Linked DNA regions of Homo sapiens: regions 1, 2 and 3 are each linked to region 4. Evidence: promoter capture Hi-C in 16 types of primary human blood cells and fetal thymus (Javierre and others, 2016). All regions are on one chromosome and are shown on one strand. The core of a region is centred on a gene start or on the middle of the fragment in contact, and the rest is flanking DNA. Distances in the headings are between cores, read along the strand shown.

Evidence for each region. The method cuts DNA at HindIII sites, captures the fragments that hold promoters and counts their contacts. A CHiCAGO score of 5 or more calls a contact.
Region 1: a contact is called between a fragment that was not itself captured here and the fragment with the promoter of BLACE in region 4, in 2 of 17 cell types (neutrophils and total CD8 T cells). The highest score is 6.8, in neutrophils.
Region 2: a contact is called between a fragment that was not itself captured here and the fragment with the promoter of BLACE in region 4, in 7 of 17 cell types (total CD8 T cells, activated CD4 T cells, non-activated CD4 T cells and 4 more). The highest score is 8.5, in total CD8 T cells.
Region 3: a fragment that was not itself captured here is called in contact with the fragment with the promoter of BLACE in region 4 in 8 of 17 cell types (neutrophils, M2 macrophages, activated CD4 T cells and 5 more); the score reaches 8.0 in neutrophils.

What each region holds. Positions count from the first base shown.
Region 1 is chr7:155,142,324-155,145,023 of GRCh38, forward strand. No RefSeq gene overlaps it. Among named protein-coding and RNA genes, the nearest start is that of HTR5A-AS1, 72 kb to the left of the region's middle. The HindIII fragment of the contact is 3,447 bases long and covers 1-2,700 here.
Region 2 is chr7:155,159,983-155,162,682 of GRCh38, forward strand. No RefSeq gene overlaps it. Among named protein-coding and RNA genes, the nearest start is that of HTR5A-AS1, 90 kb to the left of the region's middle. The HindIII fragment of the contact is 161 bases long and covers 1,344-1,504 here.
Region 3 is chr7:155,176,827-155,179,526 of GRCh38, forward strand. No RefSeq gene overlaps it. Among named protein-coding and RNA genes, the nearest start is that of HTR5A-AS1, 110 kb to the left of the region's middle. The HindIII fragment of the contact is 2,884 bases long and covers 1-2,700 here.
Region 4 is chr7:155,366,587-155,369,286 of GRCh38, forward strand. BLACE (B cell acute lymphoblastic leukemia expressed) reads right to left here and starts at 1,347. Exons shown (of 6, transcript NR_103545.1): 1 at 1,223-1,347. All of the region lies in intron 2 of LOC105375593 (a long non-coding RNA gene), which reads left to right. The HindIII fragment of the contact is 7,901 bases long and covers 1-2,700 here.

The sequences.
Region 1 (2,700 bases), core at 14-2,513, 220 kb before region 4:
GCACAGGCACAGACACACACGCACACACACATGCACACAGTGCATACACACACATGCATGTACACACACACACATGCGTGTATACACACACACTCATACACACTTGGCCAGAGGCATAAAAATAGTAAGTAACTGCCGAAGATACCACAGCTGGTCAATTTAACTGGTGTCTCACAAATTGTAACAATATGAAAAGTGTGGCTCTTTGGGTAGTTTTGCTATTGGATAGCATAAGAAAGTTACAGGGAGAATTTTAATGTGTGCCCCTACGCATGATTTCTGAGAAGGCAACATTCAGACCCTCGGAACTTTTGGCCAAACTCAGCCTTTCCACACCTGCTGCCTGGGTTCTCCCTGACTACGGGTTGTTAACACCCTCCCGGGCTCCCAGGCAACTGTGTCCATGTCAGTGCATGTCAGTGCTCTCCAGATCTGTGTTCTGTCTGTCCCCTCAAAGTCGGGGACTCCTTTCCTAAGGCTGCCCTGACATACCCTTGGGGTCAGAGGAGTAGGGAAAGGGCTCTCTGATCAGCCTGGTGGAGCTGCTCTCTGGCTCAATGTCTTAATAACAAGAAAACCTCCTCAAGTTACAGAAATTCAGCAGAAATTCTAAATTGTTCCTCACCCTCACTTTATTGTAGCAAAAGACCCCTCAAAATTCTGCACATTTCACCTGGTTTACATCAAATATAATCCACTTGGTGTAGCCCTAAGTGTTTTCATTGACCCCACAGACACGCAGTAAGAGCTGAGTGTGTGAAGAGCAGTCTCTGATCTTCATGCCCAGGCTTGGTACAAAGTTTCTGACTTCCAGGGACTGGTCTTGCAGAGCACAGGGCATGAAGGCGTGCTGCCTGTGTCTGCCGTAACAAGTCCTCCTGAAGGCGTTCCACAGCCTTACCTGTGCTAGGAATTACAATTTTACTTAATAAAAAACAAGTGATTGGATGAATTATTAATTGAATGAGTGAATGATGCCTGTCATTATGCTAAATATTTTACACAAAATATCCATTTACTTCCTTACAAAGCATCTGAGAAAGAGGCCAATTTGTTCCCATTTTATTGATTGGACCCAGAGTAATTGTCGAAGATGATGTGGCTGGTCGGTTTAACTGGTGTCTTAAAAATTGTAACAGAAATGAAGTGTGGCTCTTACGGAAGTTTTGCTGTAGGGGCACAGTATGGTGAGCCCAGTGGGACAGTCTTCTGCAGAGGCAGACGACCCCACCCAAAACATGCTTCAGGTGACATCACACACAGAAGGGCGAGGAAAGTTTATGACTCCCGTAACTGAGGACTCTGGGAAGAGCTGGCCGGCCTCTAGCTCGTGTAAAAAGGCTTGGAAGTAGGGACAAGAGACTGGCCTGGGTTTCACTGTGGTTAGGAAGTGTTTGATGTAGACTTTATTATTATTCAGGTCAGAACTAGGAACGGCTGCCATTGGAAAGCTGGTGTGTTACTCACAGATCCCTAGAGGAGGGGTCCGGCCACGCCATGGGGGCCACCTGGGGATGTGCCAGGGTTGGTCGGGATGCTGAGGGGCAGGGAAAGTGAGAAGGAGCTTCTATTGTGGTTTCCACGATAAGGGAGGCTGAGGCAGGGTCAGCAGGCCCAGGACTGCCCAGCTTGAATAATTCTAGCCCTCTGGGGACAGCAGTTGCCCTGGGTCTGGTCCCTGCCCTGGGGTAACAAGTGTGGGTGGACAGCGGCCGGGAGTGTGAGCCCACAGAGGAGGTGGCAGGTGTGGGCTCCTCCTTTGCACATGGATTGCAGGGTTTGCACATGGAAAGCCTGTGTGGGGTGGGCGATGGTTCACTATCTGGGAATTGGCTGATTGTGAGAGGAGCAGCTCCCCAGGGTCAGCAGGGCCCCAGCTATCAGAGTATCATATACAGAAAATGAGAGACAATTCATACTGATGGTGGGCTGGGGCTAGAGTTCCTAATGGGAGAGATTTGTGGGGTTTTAATCTCCCACTAGTGCCAGAGGAGGGAAACACCCCCCACCCCTGGCTTTCTCAACAGCTGCCCAGATGTGGGGTGAAGGGGAGGAGGGAGAAACATCAATGCTGTCAGCAGCTGAATATGAAAGAGTGGGGTCAGACTGCTGCTCACCACACTGGGGGAAAGAGCCAAGTCTCAGGCTGAATGCTGAAGGACCTCCCCAGTTCTGGCAGGAAGCACGGACTCCTGGTCTGCAGACCCCGAGAGATGTCCGGCTGCCCGTGCACCCTCAGCCCCTTCTGACCACCTGGCAGGTGCTGCCTGCAGCTAGCTACATGCTGGTTCTGAGGATCTCCACCAGAGCAGGAGAGCTGGAGGCATCCTCTAGCAAGCCACGTGTTTTGGATGCCTGCATCCACCCCTGAAAGGGACATTAAAATGAGGGTGTCCAGGAAGCACCCAGGCGTTGGGAGTAAGAGCATCTGGAATTATCTTTGTTTCCTTGTGGTAACTGATTGCCATGTCTATTAGTTCATTTTTATGCTGCTATAAAGATACTATCTGAGTCTGGGTAACGTATAAACAAAAGAAGTTTAATTGACTCACATTCTGCATGGCAGGGGAGGCCTCAGGAAACTTACACTCATGGCAGAAGGGGAAGCTAGGACCTTCTTTGTATGGTGACAGGAGAGAGAGCACAAGAAAAACTGCCACTTTTAAAACCATCAGATCTTGTAAGAACTCCTTCACCAGC
Region 2 (2,700 bases), core at 174-2,673, 210 kb before region 4:
GTATGTATATATACACACACACATACATACGTATGTATGTATATATACATACACACACATACATACGTATGTATGTATATATACATACACACACATACATACGTATATACATACATATATACGTATATACATACGTATATACGTATATACATATGTATATACGTATATACATACACATACATATATACATACACATACATACATGTACACATATGTATAGATTGATAAATACGGATATCTATCCCTCTATATATCTATATCTATAATTCAAAGTGATCATTACAATGTTGACTGTCTCTCTCTCAGTTCTGTTATAATTTGATTATTGCAGAAGGAAAAAGCACACACATCTAGAGATAGACAAGAGTACATTGTTCCCCTGAGGAGCATATTTTGGCTTTAAAATCTCCAATAACAATAACAGTCATGAAATATTGTGCTGCCTGAGAGTCATCATTGTAATGATCACTTTGAATTATTTTTTGTTCTACATTTACAAGAGTAAGATTACTATTTCAAATTATTTGAATATTTTGTGGGCTTTTATATAATAAATAGTCTGTCCCAAAATTATATTGGTATATACTACTAATAGTCATACATAAGCGTGCCAATTTCATTGCAATTCCACCAAATTTTGGTAGTATAATTTTTATTTGTGCAACATAACAGGTATGAAACTACATTTTATAGTTAAAATATAGGTAACTATGTCCTATATTTTAATTTTCACCATCTGAATTACTAGACTTTCTATCATTTTCCTTGCATTAATTCACAATTTGTCTAGGATAACCCAGGGTCCCCTTCCTTTTATTCTACCAACTTTTGTCCCTCAATACAGGATACCTGGAGCAAGATTTTACTTCTGTTTGGTTTCTGCTGGAAAACCTAGTTTGGAACTGAAGAACTTCAGTCTTAAAACATCAGCTGTTTGCCTGACCTGTTAAGGAGACTATTCTCACCTTTAACTTATCTTGGAAATCTCCCGCCTTTGTTGGGTTCTTTTATTGAGTTCATCTATCTAACCTATTCCTAACTCCCCCTCCCTTGGCTCCCAGGCCACAGAATCTCAGAGTTGGAAGCAGCCATAAGAGCCACATTCTCCAGACTCTCAGCCCAAGCAGCCATCCCCATTGTGTGCCCATGGACTTAGTCAACCAGCATTGGTGCAAATGACCAAGATCTCAAAGTTAAGATTAGTCAAAAATGGCTTTCTAGCCATTCTCTATGCATGGAACTCCAGTCTGCTTGTGTCTCTAGGCACCCTCTTCCTTGTGGACTTAGGATCTCCCATTTTAATGAGACTTCTTATATAAATAACATTTCTAAAGTATCAGTGAAGCTTTCAACCACTAGGTTATCATAGATATGTCCTATCTTCCCTCAAAGTGGCTGTCTCTAGTCCATTGTAATAATTTGTAATAAATAAATGTAATGGGATCATCTATTGGATAGAAGAACTTTCTATTGTGGAGATGAATTATTAATGCAGAAATCCACAAGCTTCTAAAACCTAGCACTGGCTTGGGCAAAGGTATTGTCTCTATGTGAACACCTTTAAAAATAGAAAAGAAATCAGTCAGTGCCTCTCAAATTGATTAATGTATACTAATACCCATTCCTCCAGAATTTATGATAGTGACTCTGTTATATGGGAAAAGTATTACTATCCCATAAGATACTGAAATGAACACCTACATTTATATCAAACACACTTGAAATAAACTGCTCAGTAGCACATCAGGGCTGCACAGGTCAATGCTGCCTGCGGTGAGGTTAGACCAGCTTCCCTCCCAATGGTGGAACACATCACAGATGTCAAGGGAGAGGCAGGAACTCAGGGGAAGAAGACCTGATCCAGACAGCTCCCATGTGCTACAGACTTTTTCATCACATCCCGCACAACTCATGTCCTTGTCTCATCTTTATGACCTATGATGACACCTGGGCCATATCCCACAAACACAAAACACTCCTGACTCAGAAGCTGACGGCCAGTGTTTACTCAAGTGGCAAGAAAGGCTTTGTGTTGAAAAATCGCAGAAGGAAGCCATCTCCTTGGAGGCTCATGCATCGCCTTAACAAGAAGAGTGTTGTTCATATACATTTTCTTGATCAGCCCAGGATCCTCTAATGTTTTTTGAATGTCTAACATGTACCAGTTCAAAGGAAAAACTTCTAGCTTCAGAGAGAAAGATCAGAAAGAATTCAGAAGTTTTCTCTGAAAACAGGATTCTCAGTGTCCTCACCTTTTCAATGTCATACAACTTCAGACACACAGACACATGCACATATGCACACACAGATACACACACACACACACACACATCTTTGCTCAGAAAAATCGAACTCAGTTTATTTGAGATCCATCTACTTTGCTTGAACTACTAATGACTAATGCAAGGAACTCAGAATAGGCAGACAGTACCTCTAGCAAAGCCCTCTTGTAATGAAAGGGCAGCATTCTAAGACATACATGAAACAACACAGTCTAACTATCTAGTCATTCTCTGTATGAAGAACACTGACCACATGTTAAAACTGTTCCTATCCATTCCTGTTCTTCTTGGTTATTCAAATAACTTTGGCTTTAAGACTTTTTTTAAGTGACTTAACAACTTATTAGCTTATTTTCCTGAGGCTAACATGCTGAGCTTGCAAATACAATTTTAAAAGGAGCAATAATTGAATGATTGA
Region 3 (2,700 bases), core at 158-2,657, 190 kb before region 4:
GCTTACATCACCACTCCTACTTAACATTATACTAGAGATTCTATTCAGTGAAATAAGGGAAGAAATGGTAATAAAAGGCCTAAAAAATGGGACAAAAGAAGTAAAATTTGTAATGTCATTATTCACAAATGACATCATTGCACATGCAGAAACTCCAAAAGAATCTATAGACTATTAGAATCAATAAGTGAATTTAGCAAGGTGTTATGGTTTAATATGTCTGTCAAGAAGCATGTATTGAAAATTTAATCTTTAATGCAACAGTGTTAAGAAATGGGACATTTAAAGAGGTGGTTAAGCCACGAGAGCAGAGCCCTCATGGATTAATGCCATTATTGAGGGATGGGTTTATTATTGTGGGGTGGGTTCTTTATAAAAGAAAGAGTTATCTCCACCCCCCACCCTCTCTTGCCTTATGCCACAGAATGACACAGCAAGAAGGCCCTGCCAGATGTCAGCCACTTGACATTGGACTTCTTAGCCTCCAGAACTGTGGGAAATAAGATGGTTTTCTTTACAAGTTACCTAGTCTCTGGTATTCTTTTATAGCAGCATGAAATGGATTAAGAAACAAGGTTACTAAATAAAAGGCCATATATGATAATCAGTTGTATTTCTGTATACTAGCAAAATGAGTAGAAAATAAATAAAATGCACACAAAGCAGAATAAGAAACTTCAAATACCTAGGAATAAATCTAGTTAAAGATATGCAAAATACATACACTGAAAACTACAAAACATTACTGAAATTAAATAAGACCCAATAAATAGAGAGATATACCATGTTCATGGATTGGAAGACTCAATATTATACATATGTCAAAGCTCCCAATATTGACTTACCAACTCAGTGCAATACCAATAAAAAGCCTAGACATTTGTTTGTCTGTTTAACTCACAGGCTGATTCTAAAGTGTCTATGGACATCTAAAAGACCAAAAATAGTGAAGTCAGTCTTGAAGAAGTAGAACCAACCTGGAGGGTCTGCTTGACCAGATGCCAAGACCTATTTCAGAACTGTAGTGATAAAGACATTGTGGTGCTGACAAAGGATAGTAACTAGACTGGTGACTAAAATGCAGAGTCCAGGAGCAGAACTGTGTCAGTTGCCTATCGCTGTGTGACAAACTTCCTCACTACTTATCTGGGTCAGAAATTCAGAACAACAACAGGGGCAGTCCACTTTGCTCCACAATGCCTGGTCCTTCCCTGCAATAGTCCAAACATCAGAGAATTGGCTGGAACAACTAACGGCAATGATGTATCTAGGGCTTCAGTTCTTGATGTCAGTTTTTCTCTTCACTTCTCTGGGTGGCTAATCTGGGATGCCTCCTAGCGTGATGTTCCCAGGGCAGTCAGACTTTTCATGCAACAGCTGCTTTCCCCTACCATAAAAGTGGAAGCTACCAGATGTCTTGAGGCCTGGCCCACAATAGGAACAGCAGCACCCACATCCAAGCTCTGTTGTCAAGATAGGCTATAATCCTGCTTGGAGTCAGGGAGAAGTGAAATGGTGAGAGAGCCTTCCTGTCCTGATGAGTGGGGTGCATGTATGTGCAGAGTGGCCATCTCAGAAGACCATCTGCCACAGCCCTATATTTGTGCAGGCACCTATTTTGTGGCAGAGGTAACACTACAATGCAGTAGAGAAAAGATGGCTTTTTCGATAAATGATGCTGGGTCAAATGGACATCCAAAGGAAAAAACAAAATAAATTTTGACCTCTACTTTACACACTATTAAAAAATCAATTATAGAAGGATTGTGGATCTAAGTATAAAAGATGAAATAGTAATATAATTAGAAGAAAGCCTAGGGCAATTCCTTTCTGTTGTTGGAACAGGCAAATATTTCTTAAGCAGGACACACAAAATACTGATCATGAAGGAAAAAGATGATAAATTGAACTACATTCAAATTAGGAACCTCTGATTATAGAAAAGGAACATTAAGAAAGAAAAAAGACAAGCCACAGAGTAAGGGAAGATATTGCAACACATACAGGGCTGATATTGAGAACATACATATATTTTAATGGTCTATAAATCAATAAGGAAATGGTAAGGAAACCAATATAAAAATTGAGAAATAAGAACTTCATAAAAGAGTATATTCAAATGGCCAATACACATATGAAAAATTGTTCAACTTCATTAGCCATCAGAGACATGCAAATTAAAACCACAGTGAGATACCATTTTACAACCAGCAGAATGGTAAAATGAAAAAGACAGACAAAACGTTTGTGAAGAATTTAGAACATTCATCCACTACTACTGGGTATGAATTGCTACAGTCACTTTGGAAAATTGTTTAGCAGTATCTACTAAGGCTGAACACACATAAACCTCTGCCTGAGTAGTTTCACTCCTAGGTGTACATCCAATAGCAAAATGCATAAATATATTCACCAAAACACATGTATAGGAATTGCACAGCAGCACCATCCCTAATAGGCCAAAACAGGAAAAAAAAAATCAAATGGTTAGAACAATAGAATGGATAAATAAACTGTGGTACTGTCTATTCATGCAATGGACTATTCTGCAGCAACACAAGCAAATGAAGTACTGAGACACACCACATCGTGGATGAGTCCCAAAGACATATGAGCAGAAGGAGCCAAATATTTAAAAAGTACACTTTCTATTATTTTACTTAGATAAAGTCCAAAATCAGGCCACACCAATCTATGTTT
Region 4 (2,700 bases), core at 97-2,596:
AGCCGCTGGGCACACCTCCCAGACGGGGTCGTGGCCGGGCAGAGGGGCTCCTCACTTCCCAGTAGGGGCGGCCGGGCAGAAGCGCCCCTCACCTCCCGGACGGGGCGGCTGGCCGGGCGGGGGGCTGACCCCCGCCACCTCCCTCCCGGACGGGGCGGCTGGCCGGGCAGAGGGGCTCCTCACTTCCCAGTAGGGGCGGCCGGGCAGAGGCGCCCCTCACCTCCCGGACGGGGCGGCTGGCCGGGCGGGGGGCTGACCCCCCCACCTCCCTCCCGGACGGGGCGGCTGGCCGGGCAGAGGGGCTCCTCACTTCCCAGTAGGGGCGGCCGGGCAGAGGCGCCCCTCACCTCCCGGACGGGGCGGCTGGCCGGGCGGGGGGCTGACCCCCCCACCTCCCTCCCGGACGGGGCGGCTGGCCGGGCAGAGGGGCTCCTCACTTCCCAGTAGGGGCGGCCGGGCAGAGGCGCCCCTCACCTCCCGGACGGGGCGGCTGGCCGGGCGGGGGGCTGATCCCCCCACCTCCCTCCCGGACGGGGCGGCTGGCCGGGCGGGGGGCTGACCCCCCACCTCCCTCCCGGACGGGGCGGCTGGCCGGGCAGAGGGGCTCCTCACTTCCCAGTAGGGGCGGCCGGGCAGAGGCGCCCCTCACCTCCCGGACGGGGTGGCTGGCCGGGCGGGGGGCTGATCCCCCCACCTCCCTCCCGGACGGGGCGGCTGGCCGGGCGGGGGGCTGACCCCCCACCTCCCTCCCGGACGAGGCGGCTGGCCGGGCAGAGGGGCTCCTCACTTCCCAGTAGGGGCAGCCGGGCAGAGGCGCCCCTCACCTCCCGGACGGGGCGGCTGGCCAGGCGGGGGGCTGATCCCCCCACCTCCCTCCCGGACGGGGCGGCTGGCCGGGCGGGGGGCTGACCCCCCACCTCCCTCCCGGACGGGGCGGCTGGCCGGGCAGAGGAGTCCTCACTTCCCAGTAGGGGCGGCCGGGTAGAGGCGCCCCTCACCTCCCGGACGGGGCGGCTGGCCAGGCGGGGGGCTGATCCCCCCACCTCCCTCCCGGACGGGGCGGCTGGCCGGGCAGGGGGCTGACCCCCCTCCCCCCTCCCGGACTGGGTGGCTGGCCGGGCGGGGGGCTGACCCCCCCACCTCCCTCCTGGACGGGGCGACTGGCCGGGCAGAGGGGCTCCTCACTTCCCAGTAGGGGCGGCCGGGCAGAGGAGCCCCTCACCTCCCGGACGGGGCGGCTGGCCGGGCGGGGGGCTGACCCCCCCCACCTCCCCCCCGGACGGGGTGGCTGCCGGGCGGAGACGCTCCTCACTTCCCAGACGGGGTGGCTGCTGGACGGAGGGGCTCCTCACTTCTCAGACGGGGTGGTTGCCAGGCAGAGGTGCTCCCCACCTCTCAGACGATGGGCGGCCAGGCAGAGACGCTCCTCACTTTCCAGACGGGGTGGCGGCCGGGCAGAGGCTGCAATCTCGGCTCTTTGGGAGGCCAAGGCAGGCGGCTGGGAGGTGTAGGTTGTAGTGAGCCGAGATCACGCCGCTGCACTCCAGCCTGGGCACCATTGAGCACTGAGTGAACGAGACTCCGTCTGCAATCCCAGCACCTCGGAAGGCCGAGGCTGGCGGATCACTCGCGGTTAGGAGCTGGAGACCAGCCCGGCCAACACAGCGAAACCCCGTCTCCACCAAAAAAAAACGAAAACCAGTCAGGCGTGGCGGCGCGTGCCTGCAATCACAGGCACTCGGCAGGCTGAGGCAGGAGAATCAGGCAGGGAGGTTGCAGTGAGCCGAGATCGCAGCAGTACAGTCCAGCTTCGGCTCGGCATCAGAGGGAGACCGTGGAAGGAGACCGTGGGGAGAGGTAGAGGTAGAGGTAGAGGTAGAGGTTAGAGGTTAGAGGTTAGAGGTTAGAGGTAGAGGTAGAGGTAGAGGTAGAGGTAGAGGTAGAGGTAGAGGTAGACGTAGAGGTATCCTTTAATCTTTCTAGGACAGGTACAGTGGCTCATGCCTGTAATCCCAGCACTTTGGGAGGCCGAGGTGGGAGGATCACTGGAGGCAGGCGGATCACTGGAGCCAAGGAGTTCAAGACCAACCAGGGCAACATAGTGAGACCTTGTCTCTACAAGAAGTTTAAAAAATTAGCCAAGCATGGCGGCGCATGCCTGTAGTCCCAGCTACTTGGGAGGATGAAGCTAGAGGATTGCTTGAGCCCAGAAGGCAGAGGCTGCAGTGAGCAGTGATCACACCACTGCACTCCAGCCTGGGCGACAGAGCAAGCTCCTATCTCAAAAAAAAAAAAAAAAACAGATAATCTTTCTAGGACTTGATTTCCCAGGCTCCATAATGGCAATCTGCGCAGGCAGCTTCTGGCTCTGAGTCTTCCTGTTTCTGTGGTGCCACTGCCAGCACAGGGAGGTCATTCTGTATCATGTCACTTGCTTGGTGTTTTACACCCATGGATGATGAAACAGCAACTGCAGCCTGGAGTGCTGGGAGGCAGAGAGAGTCTCGCTTCCCAGGCCATCTGGCTTACTGTGAAGGCCAGAAGCAGCACAGCCTCTCTTGGTCACCAGGGATCAGGACTCAGGTGGAGAGGGTGGGGCAGGGGCTGGCAGTGGAGACAGGTCCACACTGGGAACCAGCTGTGCCAGGCAGTGTGGCCCTGAAGCCCCTAAGGTGTGTCAAGAGGGGTCTTTCAGGAAAT